2 separate regions of the Homo sapiens genome follow, and region 2 is linked to region 1. The links are contacts of gene promoters, found by promoter capture Hi-C in human tissues and cell types (Jung and others, 2019). All regions are on one chromosome and are shown on one strand. The core of a region is centred on a gene start or on the middle of the fragment in contact, and the rest is flanking DNA. Distances in the headings are between cores, read along the strand shown.

The links. The method cuts DNA at HindIII sites, captures the fragments that hold promoters and counts their contacts. A contact is called where the count stands out against the background at its distance.
Region 2: a fragment that was not itself captured here is called in contact with the fragment with the promoter of TMEM235 in region 1 in 1 of the 25 tissues and cell types used here (aorta).

The regions. Positions count from the first base shown.
Region 1 is chr17:78,230,344-78,234,823 of GRCh38, reverse strand. TMEM235 (transmembrane protein 235) reads right to left here and starts at 3,193. Exons shown (of 5, transcript NM_001395503.1): 1 at 2,611-3,193; 2 at 849-929; 3 at 94-231. The coding sequence starts at 2,800. The HindIII fragment of the contact is 13,022 bases long and covers 1-4,480 here.
Region 2 is chr17:76,633,883-76,638,313 of GRCh38, reverse strand. The region is part of intron 1 of ST6GALNAC1 (ST6 N-acetylgalactosaminide alpha-2,6-sialyltransferase 1); the gene reads left to right. Among named protein-coding and RNA genes, the nearest start is that of ST6GALNAC1, 7.7 kb to the left of the region's middle. The HindIII fragment of the contact is 7,403 bases long and covers 1-4,431 here.

The DNA of each region.
Region 1 (4,480 bases), core at 1,944-4,443:
GGACGAGGGCAACAGGAGAGGCAGCACCCCACTCCCGGGACCTGTGGCCCAGCTCCCATCTTTGGAGCCATTCCCCCAGGGCCCCAGACTCACTCCCCAGCAGGAAGTAGCAGCCGGTGAAAAGCAGCAGAGACACGCTCTGGGCCAGGGAGCTGAGCAGGCCGCAGATCCAGCCACACACGAGAAGGACCAGGCTCAGGGGCAGGACCACAATGACTGCACGGTGCAGCACTGCAGGAAAGGGGGCTCAGGTGAGAATTCTGGTCCAGGTGGGCCCTTCAGCACTTGTCTGCCGGAGGACAGTGACGTGGTGCTTCGTCTTCTCAGGAAAAGCGGCTGACGCCCATCTCTGTGGACACCACTGGACCCTCCCAGTGGCCCCCTCTGACTCTGGCAGGGGCTTCCTAAGGCCAGGAGGGGAGGCGTCCCCAGAACACTCCCAGCCCCCATCCCCAGGCCTCACATGTCCCCCAACCCGCCAGGTGGAAGGTGCCAGCCAGGTAGACAGCAGGCCATCTGGAAGAATCGAGTCCTAAATGGGGAGCCAGGAGTCTGCAAGGCCCGCAGGATCCAGCCAAGCTGGGAGCTGCCTGGCTTCCCCAATAACAAAGGGATGAGCCATCACCACTGAGAGGGAAACTGAGACAGGGGAAAACAGGATAGGCTGGGAGCTGGGCACCTGTGGTTAGGGACAGCAGCACAGCACTGGGACAGGTCTGCGTGGAAACGTCCTCTTGGAAACGCAGGGGCAGTGGAAGCAGTGCTGCGGGATGGGGATGGGGATGGCTGGGATCTGCCTTGCCTGAATATTTGGAAAGGATGGGGAGGTGGCCCCACCCAGGACTCACAGATGAGGTGCTGCACCGAGGTGGAGACGTCCAGGCTCTCACTGGCAAAAGGGTCGACCAGCGGGATGCAGCCGTTCTGCCCTGGGAAACATAGGCCTCGAAGCCTGGGGCCTGGACGCTGTGGTGCACCCAGCAGCCTACCCGAGCCCAGGGGACCCCCTGGCACCACAGGGCCCTGCCAGCTTCTCTTCTGCTGAAACTCAGGGCTGGGACTCCAAGTGGGATGAAAAGGCCCAAGACCTTTAGCCTTGTTTATTTTCTTTTTCTTTTTTTTTTTTTTGAGATGGAGTCTCGCTCTGTCACCCCAGGCTGGAGTGCAGTGGCGCGATCTCGGTTCACTGCAAGCTCCGCCTCCCGGTTTCGCGCCATTCTCCTGCCTCAGCCTCCCAAGTAGCTGGGACTACAGGCACCCGCCACCGTGCCCGGCTAATTTTTTGTATTTTTAGTAGAGACGGGGTTTCACTGTGGTCTCGATCTCCTGACCTCGTGATCCACCCGCCTCGGCCTCCCAAAGTGCTGGGATTACAGGCGTGGGCCACCGGGCCCAGCCTTCACCTTGTTTATTTTCACGTGCAAGTTATGCCTGCACAGGTGCATGTTTAAACTTTCAAACGCTCCATGGAGGCCCCCTCAGAGTCCCTCAGGCAGGGGTCCTTGTAATGCGTTTGTGTGTGGAACTCAGGCTTTGCCTGAAAGGAAAAAGGGTGTACAAAACGGGCTCCTGGGAAGCCTCGCTCTGGAATCTTCCTGACTCGTGTCATGTGGGCATACATACTCTCTGGTTCTCACACGCGTGCAGAGCCACCTGCATAGGCACAGGCGTGTGCACACGTGCACACAGGTGCATGTCAGGAGGTCTTTGGAGCACAGTTAGGCAGTCTGTTGGATGAACACAAGGCTCCTAACTCCTCCCCAGTTGCACTGAGGAAGCCACCAGCACATGTGCACCACCCACACATGCACTCACTCATATACATGCCCACACACTCTCACATGCACACACATGCACACTGACATGCTCACACACTCATATTCACATGCACACACAACTACATACACTCACACTCACATATTCATATTTACATACACAGCCAGGTGCTCACACATGTTCATGTTCAGCACATGCACACATATTCAGATGCACACACATGCTCACTCACACACACACCCCTGCCCTGCCAGCCCTCGCGCTGTGAAGGGGAAGCTCCCCAGGCTGGCCCCAGCTCCGGAGGAGGGAGCTGGGGGGAACGGAGGGGGCCCTGTGGACCCTCCAGCCTGCTGGGATCCCCTTCTCTCTCCCCGGACTCTGAAGCCTCTGTACACATTTGGAACCCCTGCCCCCGCGGCATCAGGAGGTGTGGGGTGAACAGCTCTGACAGTGCCTGACAGGGACGGGGACAAGGGGCTGCCAGGCCCAAACCCCGGGGAGCGTGATCAAGAAACAACCCCTGGTGACTTGGATGAGGCCCCCCAACTACACACCTCTAGGCTTCCCTCCCCCACTGTCGCCCCACAGCCCCCTCCTCCGGCTGTGAGGGGCCCCGAACTGGGCTCCCTCCCTCCTGTAGCCCTTGGGCTGTCAGTTTTGGGGGAAGACGGAGGGTGATGGGGAGGGAGCGGAGAGACACCCTGGGGCAGAGCGGGATGCAAGAGAGGGGTCCTGGAAGGGGGTCTGGCGGGGCAACACGAGCAGGGCGGGGTTAAGGGGGTGTCGGAGGGACGAGGTCGCGGAGGGAGGAGGGCCGGCGCGGTGGCCGGTTACCTTCGCAGATGCGCCAGAGCCCCGAGTGCGAGGAGAGCAGCTCTGCGCGCCCGGGCCAGGCGCTGCCATTGCCGGCGTCCGCCACCTCCAGGATGTACCAGTAGTCGCTGGCGACCGCGGCGGCCAGGAGCGCGAAGCTGAGCAGTGCACCCAGGGCGGCGGCCAGGAGCAGCGCGCCCAGCCGGGCCATGGGGGCGGCCGGCGGGAGGGGACGGGTCGGGGGTAGCAGGGCCCCGGGGGCGGCGGGGGGCGCGCGGAGCCGGGAGCCGGGGGACGGGGGGCGGGCGGGCGCGGCGGCGCCCGGCTCTTCTGAGCACGTCCCCGCTCCTGCCCGCGCACTGGCCTCGCGGGCCCCCTGGGGTCGCAGGGAGATCGACCCCACCTCTCTGCGGTCGCTGAGCTCGCCCCTGGGGGAAAGGAGAGGAAGTCGAGAGCCGCGCGGCGAACCTGGGGCTTGGGCTCCAATCCCAGCGTCCCCACGGGCTGGCCCCGGGTCCCTGGGCACGTTCCTTAATTTCCCTGAACCCCCGGCTCCTCAGCAGCCAAACAAGATGCACCTGCCTGGCCGGGCTGTGCAGGGCTTGAGAGGAGGAGGGAGGATCGGCCAGAGACCGACCCCAGGAGGATGGCCGGCCAGGCAGCAGGACCACCCACCCGTGCTCCTGGAAGCATAGGAGCCTGGCACGGGCTGGCCCTGGGGTCCTGGTCTGTATCAGTCCTGAGGACCAACCAGACGGCATCCGGTGAAGTGCAGTGGCTGGGCCCCACAGCCGGGCGGGGGGCTGCGGAAGGAAAAAACCTTGTTTTGGATTCACTCATAATTACAAATGCCCCCTCCAGCAAGGCCGGCCTCTGCCTGTCCAGTCACTCACGGAGAAAACAGGCAGAAAGAACCTTCTAGGACAGGCGTGGGGTGCCAGTGGGGGTGGGAGGCAGAGGAGCCGGCGAGAGGCCCCCACCCATCCACCCAGGACTAGCCCCATGAGCAACGCCCGCGTGGGCAGCCACACAGGCGGAAGGGACAGGCTGGGCAGCCATCGCCTAAGGTCTGGGGTTAAATCTCAAACGAAGGGGAGGCTTCCTCTGGGTTGCCACACAGGGCTGGGCAGAGCCTGCAGAGAGGGGATCAGAGGTCTGAGGACATCCTCCCGGATGGTGGCCCTTGGAGGTGAAGCCAAGGCTCTCTTCTTGGGGCGTTTTGGCCATGCTTTCCTCTGCTAGGCTCTTGTTGGTTTGAGGAATATAGTCAGGAAGGAAAAACCAGCCTAGCAGTTATTGAAACAATATTTCAAACAGAGTTCAGACAGAGTGACAGAATGGCTCAGGTATTTTGTAGCCGTCCTCACACCTGCAGCACCAGACTGTGTTGCCGCACGTGGGCAGCTCTGGGGTTTTCCAGCCCCCTTGGAGCTGGGGCTTCCCTGACCACAGCCCCTCTCTGGGAGCCATGTGGCATCCAGCAGCCCTGTTCTCTAGGGGTGGGGATAGCACATTAGATCTGGAAGGTGAAAGAACTCAACAGGTGCTCAGAGAGTAGCAGCCGTTATAAAGGCAGAGGCGATAGGGATAGGGGGTGGGGCCTCGTTCCCCCCCTAAACACACTGCAGCTGGGGAAAGAACGGTGCGTGATGAAAACTCGTGGTACTCTGACACTGACCCCACAATAAAGCAATATAACAAGAATCAATATTGCTTCGGTTGGATCAACACCTTTGTGCATGTGAAAGGTACGAACTGACTCTGCAGGGAGAACAGAGGAGCCCCATTTGGGCTGCGTGCTCCATGTGTGTCCTCCCGGTGACTTCCCCTTCTCTCTCTCACTCTATTTATTTTTTTAGAGACAAGGTCTCCCTATGTTGCCCAGGCTGGA
Region 2 (4,431 bases), core at 1,554-4,053, 1.6 Mb after region 1:
CATCATTTGTTCAGTGATGTGTAGATGTCATCTAAGACTATGTCTCTGCTTGGCTTCCATAGTCTGGTATAAATATGTTTTGGAAGATCTATGCTTGTTTTAGCTTTAGAGATGGTAATTAAGAGTGAGCTGTGTAGCATGGCCCCTGCACAAGGATGACGTGCAAATTCGTAAAGCGTTCCATTAAAAAAAAAAAAAAAAAAGAGTGAGCTGTAAAAACAGACCTATGGGTTCTGTTTGTCATTTTCTTGTTGTCACTTTATGTTCTCCAGCCTGGCCAGCATGGCAAAATTCCATCTCTACTAAAAATATGAAAATTAGCCGGGCACGGTGGCACATGCATGTAATCCCAGCTACTCAGGGGGTTGAGGCACAAGAATCGCTTGAACCTGGGCACTGGCTTCCAGTGAGCCGAGATCATGCCACTGCACTCTAGCCTGGACGACAGAGTGAGACTCTGTGTCCAAAAAGAAAAGAACAGAACTTTATTTTCTATCACCTCCTGATTTCTGATTCTGAACTCCCATCCACCAAGCTTCAGGAAAACTTAATCTCAGCTCTTCTTGCCCCTCTGCAGGATGGTATCAAGGGCTCCAGGACATCTGATGCGGTGCCAAGGCATGGGAGTGGGACGCTGACCCTTCGCTATTGAGTAGCTGCTGAAACAGCCATTGTTCCTGCCCCTTGGCTCTTTCAGGTCCACCTGGCTTATGTGTGAGAGACTTTTTTTGGGTTTTTTTTGTTCTGTTTTTTTGAAAAGCCAGTACCAAAAGCTTACATAATTGTATGATTGCATTCAAATAACATTCTTGAAATGATAAAATTATAAAAATACAGAACAGATGAGTGGTGTTTCTAGGGGTTGAGGAGGGGGTGGTGTAGGAAGAAAGTGGCTGTGGCTATAAAAGGACAACATGAGGGACCCTTGTGGTGACTGTTCTATGTCTTTTTTTTTTTTTTTTAATTCACATCTTTATTTATCCTAAACCTTTTAGGTTTAGGGTGTGATGGGAATCTTTTTTTTTTTTTTTTTTTTTTTTTAGTATTTATTGATCATTCTTGGGTGTTTCTCGGAGAGGGGGATTTGGCAGGGTCATAGGACAATAGTGGAGGGAAGGTCAGCAGATAAACATGTGAACAAAGGTCTCTGGTTTTCCTAGGCAGAGGGCCCTGCGGCCTTCCGCAGTGTTTGTGTCCCTGGGAACTTGAGATTAGGGAGTGGTGATGACTCTTAACGAGCATGCTGCCTTCAAGCATCTGTTTAACAAAGCACATCTTGCACCGCCCTTAATCCATTCAACCCTGAGTGGACACAGCACATGTTTCAGAGAGCACGGGGTTGGGGGTAAGGTCATAGATCAACAGGATCCCAAGGCAGAAGAATTTTTCTTAGTACAGAACAAAATGGAGTCTCCTATGTCTACTTCTTTCTACACAGACACAGTAACAATCTGATCTCTCTTTCTTTTCCCCACATTTCCCCCTTTTCTATTCGACAAAACCGCCATCGTCATCATGGCCCGTTCTCAATGAGCTGTTGGGTACACCTCCCAGATGGGGTGGCGGCCGGGCAGAGGGGCTCCTCACTTCCCAGACGGGGCGGCGGTCAGAGGCGCCCCCGACCTCCCAGACGGGGCGGCGGCTGGGTGGGGGCTACCCCCACCTCCCGGACGGGGAGGCTGGCCGGGCGGGAGGACTTTTCTTTTTTTGAAACGGAGTCTCGTTTTGCCATCCAGGCTGGAGTGCAGTGGCGTGATCTCAGCTCCGTGTGAGACTTTTCTGACACTGTCTGTGGTCCTGTCTTCCTAGGCTCAGGATTCTTTTTTTTTCCAGGGGTCTTGTTAGACCTTTGGAACACTGCCAGGAAGCAGGGTCCTCTGACCTTGGAACTCACAGATCCCTCCTTCTCTCATTTCCGCCACCCACCAGAGTAAAGGATCTTTCCAGGGGAAGGACAATGATGGTAAGAAGTAGTAAAGTCCTTCCCCCTCATAACTTCTCCAAGATTGATCTGTTTCACTACATCTTGAACATGAAACCAAATCTTAACTGCTGGAGGTATGGGGGTGGGGTGGAGAGGGAAACAAATAACATTTCAAAATAGTATATAATTGTATTCAAAAGCATGACAGGCGTAGAAAAGGGATGCGGCTGTTCATGCCCTGAGGTACTAACAGTAGATTCTTTGAAGGGACTGGGATAATAGGAGGTTGCTATCCTTTCATGTTTTAAGGCAGTTTCTGCTTTTTCCGTAATAAGCACACATTGCTTTTATAAAAATAAAAATAATTCATAAAAGTTCACTTCTGAAGACTCAGGAGAAAAAGACTCAGCTTAGGTAACCCCTACATACCAAAGTATCCCCCCGAGCAGAACTGCCTCCCTAGGCTGTCACCACTGCCTCGCACACGTATGACTAATATCATACCGATGACACTTTAAGGCAGCTGCTTATACTCATGTCTGTTTCTCTTATAGACTGTGAGCCTCTTAAAACCAGTGACCATTGCTTTTTTTATCTTTAATCTCTAGCAGATACCTCTGAATGCCTGTCATGTCATGGCTACTCAATGAATATTGCAGAATAAACATTGCATTGTGTTGTCAAGTTCTCGTAGAACTTTCCATAAGATGTCTCATTTAGTTGGTTTGTTGTTGTTATTGTTGTTGTTGTTTTGAGACAGAGTCTCTCTTTGCTGCCCAGACTGGAGTGCAGTGATGCGATCCCTGCTCACTGCAACCTCCACCTCGCAGGCTCAAACAATTCTCCTGCCTCAGCCTCCAGAGTAGCTGGGATTACAGGCGTGCACCACCACACCCAGCCGTTTGTATTTTTAGTAGAGACAGGGTTTCGCCATGTTGGCCAGGCTGGTCTCGAATTCCTGACCTCAAGTGATCCGCCTGCTTCAGCCTCCCAAAGTGCTGGGATTACAGGCGTAGGACATCTAACTTTCAAACCAGCTGACTGGCATTCTGGCCCACAGTGAATTCAGCTAGGCGAAGGGCATCTCTGAGAATGCTGGGGACCTGTCTGTTCAGGGGGAGCTCTGGAAGCTGTATCCAGCCACTGAAGTATGATGAGCAGCAACTGACTCATTTTCCTTCTGTTTTCTCTCGAGTCCCAGAACATAATAACATCCCCACTAGAATCTCCCCACTAAGATTGAGGTGGCTGAAAACCACCACACAGGCTTTGATTTGAGAAAAGAACACTCAGAATAACAAGAGAAAATGGATTTCTGCCATTTTTTTCCAGCATACAAAGATAATTAAGGCAATCATACAGCTTTTAGTCATGGAAGCAGCGTATAGACACATCTAAAGTCAAAGTAAAGTCGTAAAAATAAAGCATTCATTCACTTTTAGAAAACTTTCAGGATTTTCCAAGGAAGATAAACTTTGGAGTTTGTTTTTTGTTTTTGTTTTTTTTGAGACAGAGTCTTGCTGTATCACTCAGGCTGGAGTGCAGTGGTACGATCTCAGCTCACTGCAACCTCTGCCTCCCGAGTTCAAGCGATTCTCCTGCCTCAGCCTCCCAAGTAGCTGGGATTACAGGCATGCACCACCATGCCCAGCTAATTTTTGTATTTTTAATAGAGATGGGGTTTCACCATGTTGGCCAGGCTGGTCTCGAACTCCTGACCTCAGGTGATCCACCCCCCACCCCCACCCCCGGCCTCCCAAAGTGCTGGGATTACAGGCGTGAGGCACCACGCCTGGCCAACTTTAGAGTTGGAAAAGAAAAAGCAGAATGGCTGGTTTCTATCTCACATAAGACAGGAGACCCCGAAGAACTGATCAAATACCAAAAGGAGGCTGGAATAGCCCTCGTGGACACCAAGGGGGTCTTGGGAACTCCAGGCCCAGCTAACAATGTGGGGCACAGGAGGCAGGAGCAGTTCAAGGTAGAGAGCTCCACAGCAGGGAGTGGAGAGGGACACAGGGCAGAGCGAAGTGTTAGTTTGTCCTCCTTTCAAGGAGAAGCAGCATCAAAGCTGTGGGAACCAAACATGTAACCTGGAAGAGGAAAGCTCACCCAGCCAGGGGGCCTGAGATAAAATGAGGGCAAAGTTGATGGTGGGGACTGAGAAAGAGCCCAGGACTTAAGGACGTAAGTAGAGGCGATTCTGTGTGACCAGCCATTCCCACATACCAGGCGCAACTCACCTGCAGCCACTTCCGCTCGCTCTCCATGCCATAGAAGGCGGGAGCCCAGGTGCAAAATTATTTAGCGAATCAAAGGAGTCTTTTCAGCTCTTTTCTTATCCTCCTCCATAAAATAATCTTCTACTCATACTGGCTTTGTTAGTGAGTGACCTTTCCTTGGGGTATTTTTTCAAAATTCAGTTTCAGCCTCTTCAATATCCTAGTCAACTTCAACATTCCTGTGTTATCTCTCGTACTGTATTCTTGGAAAATACCGCTCTCTGG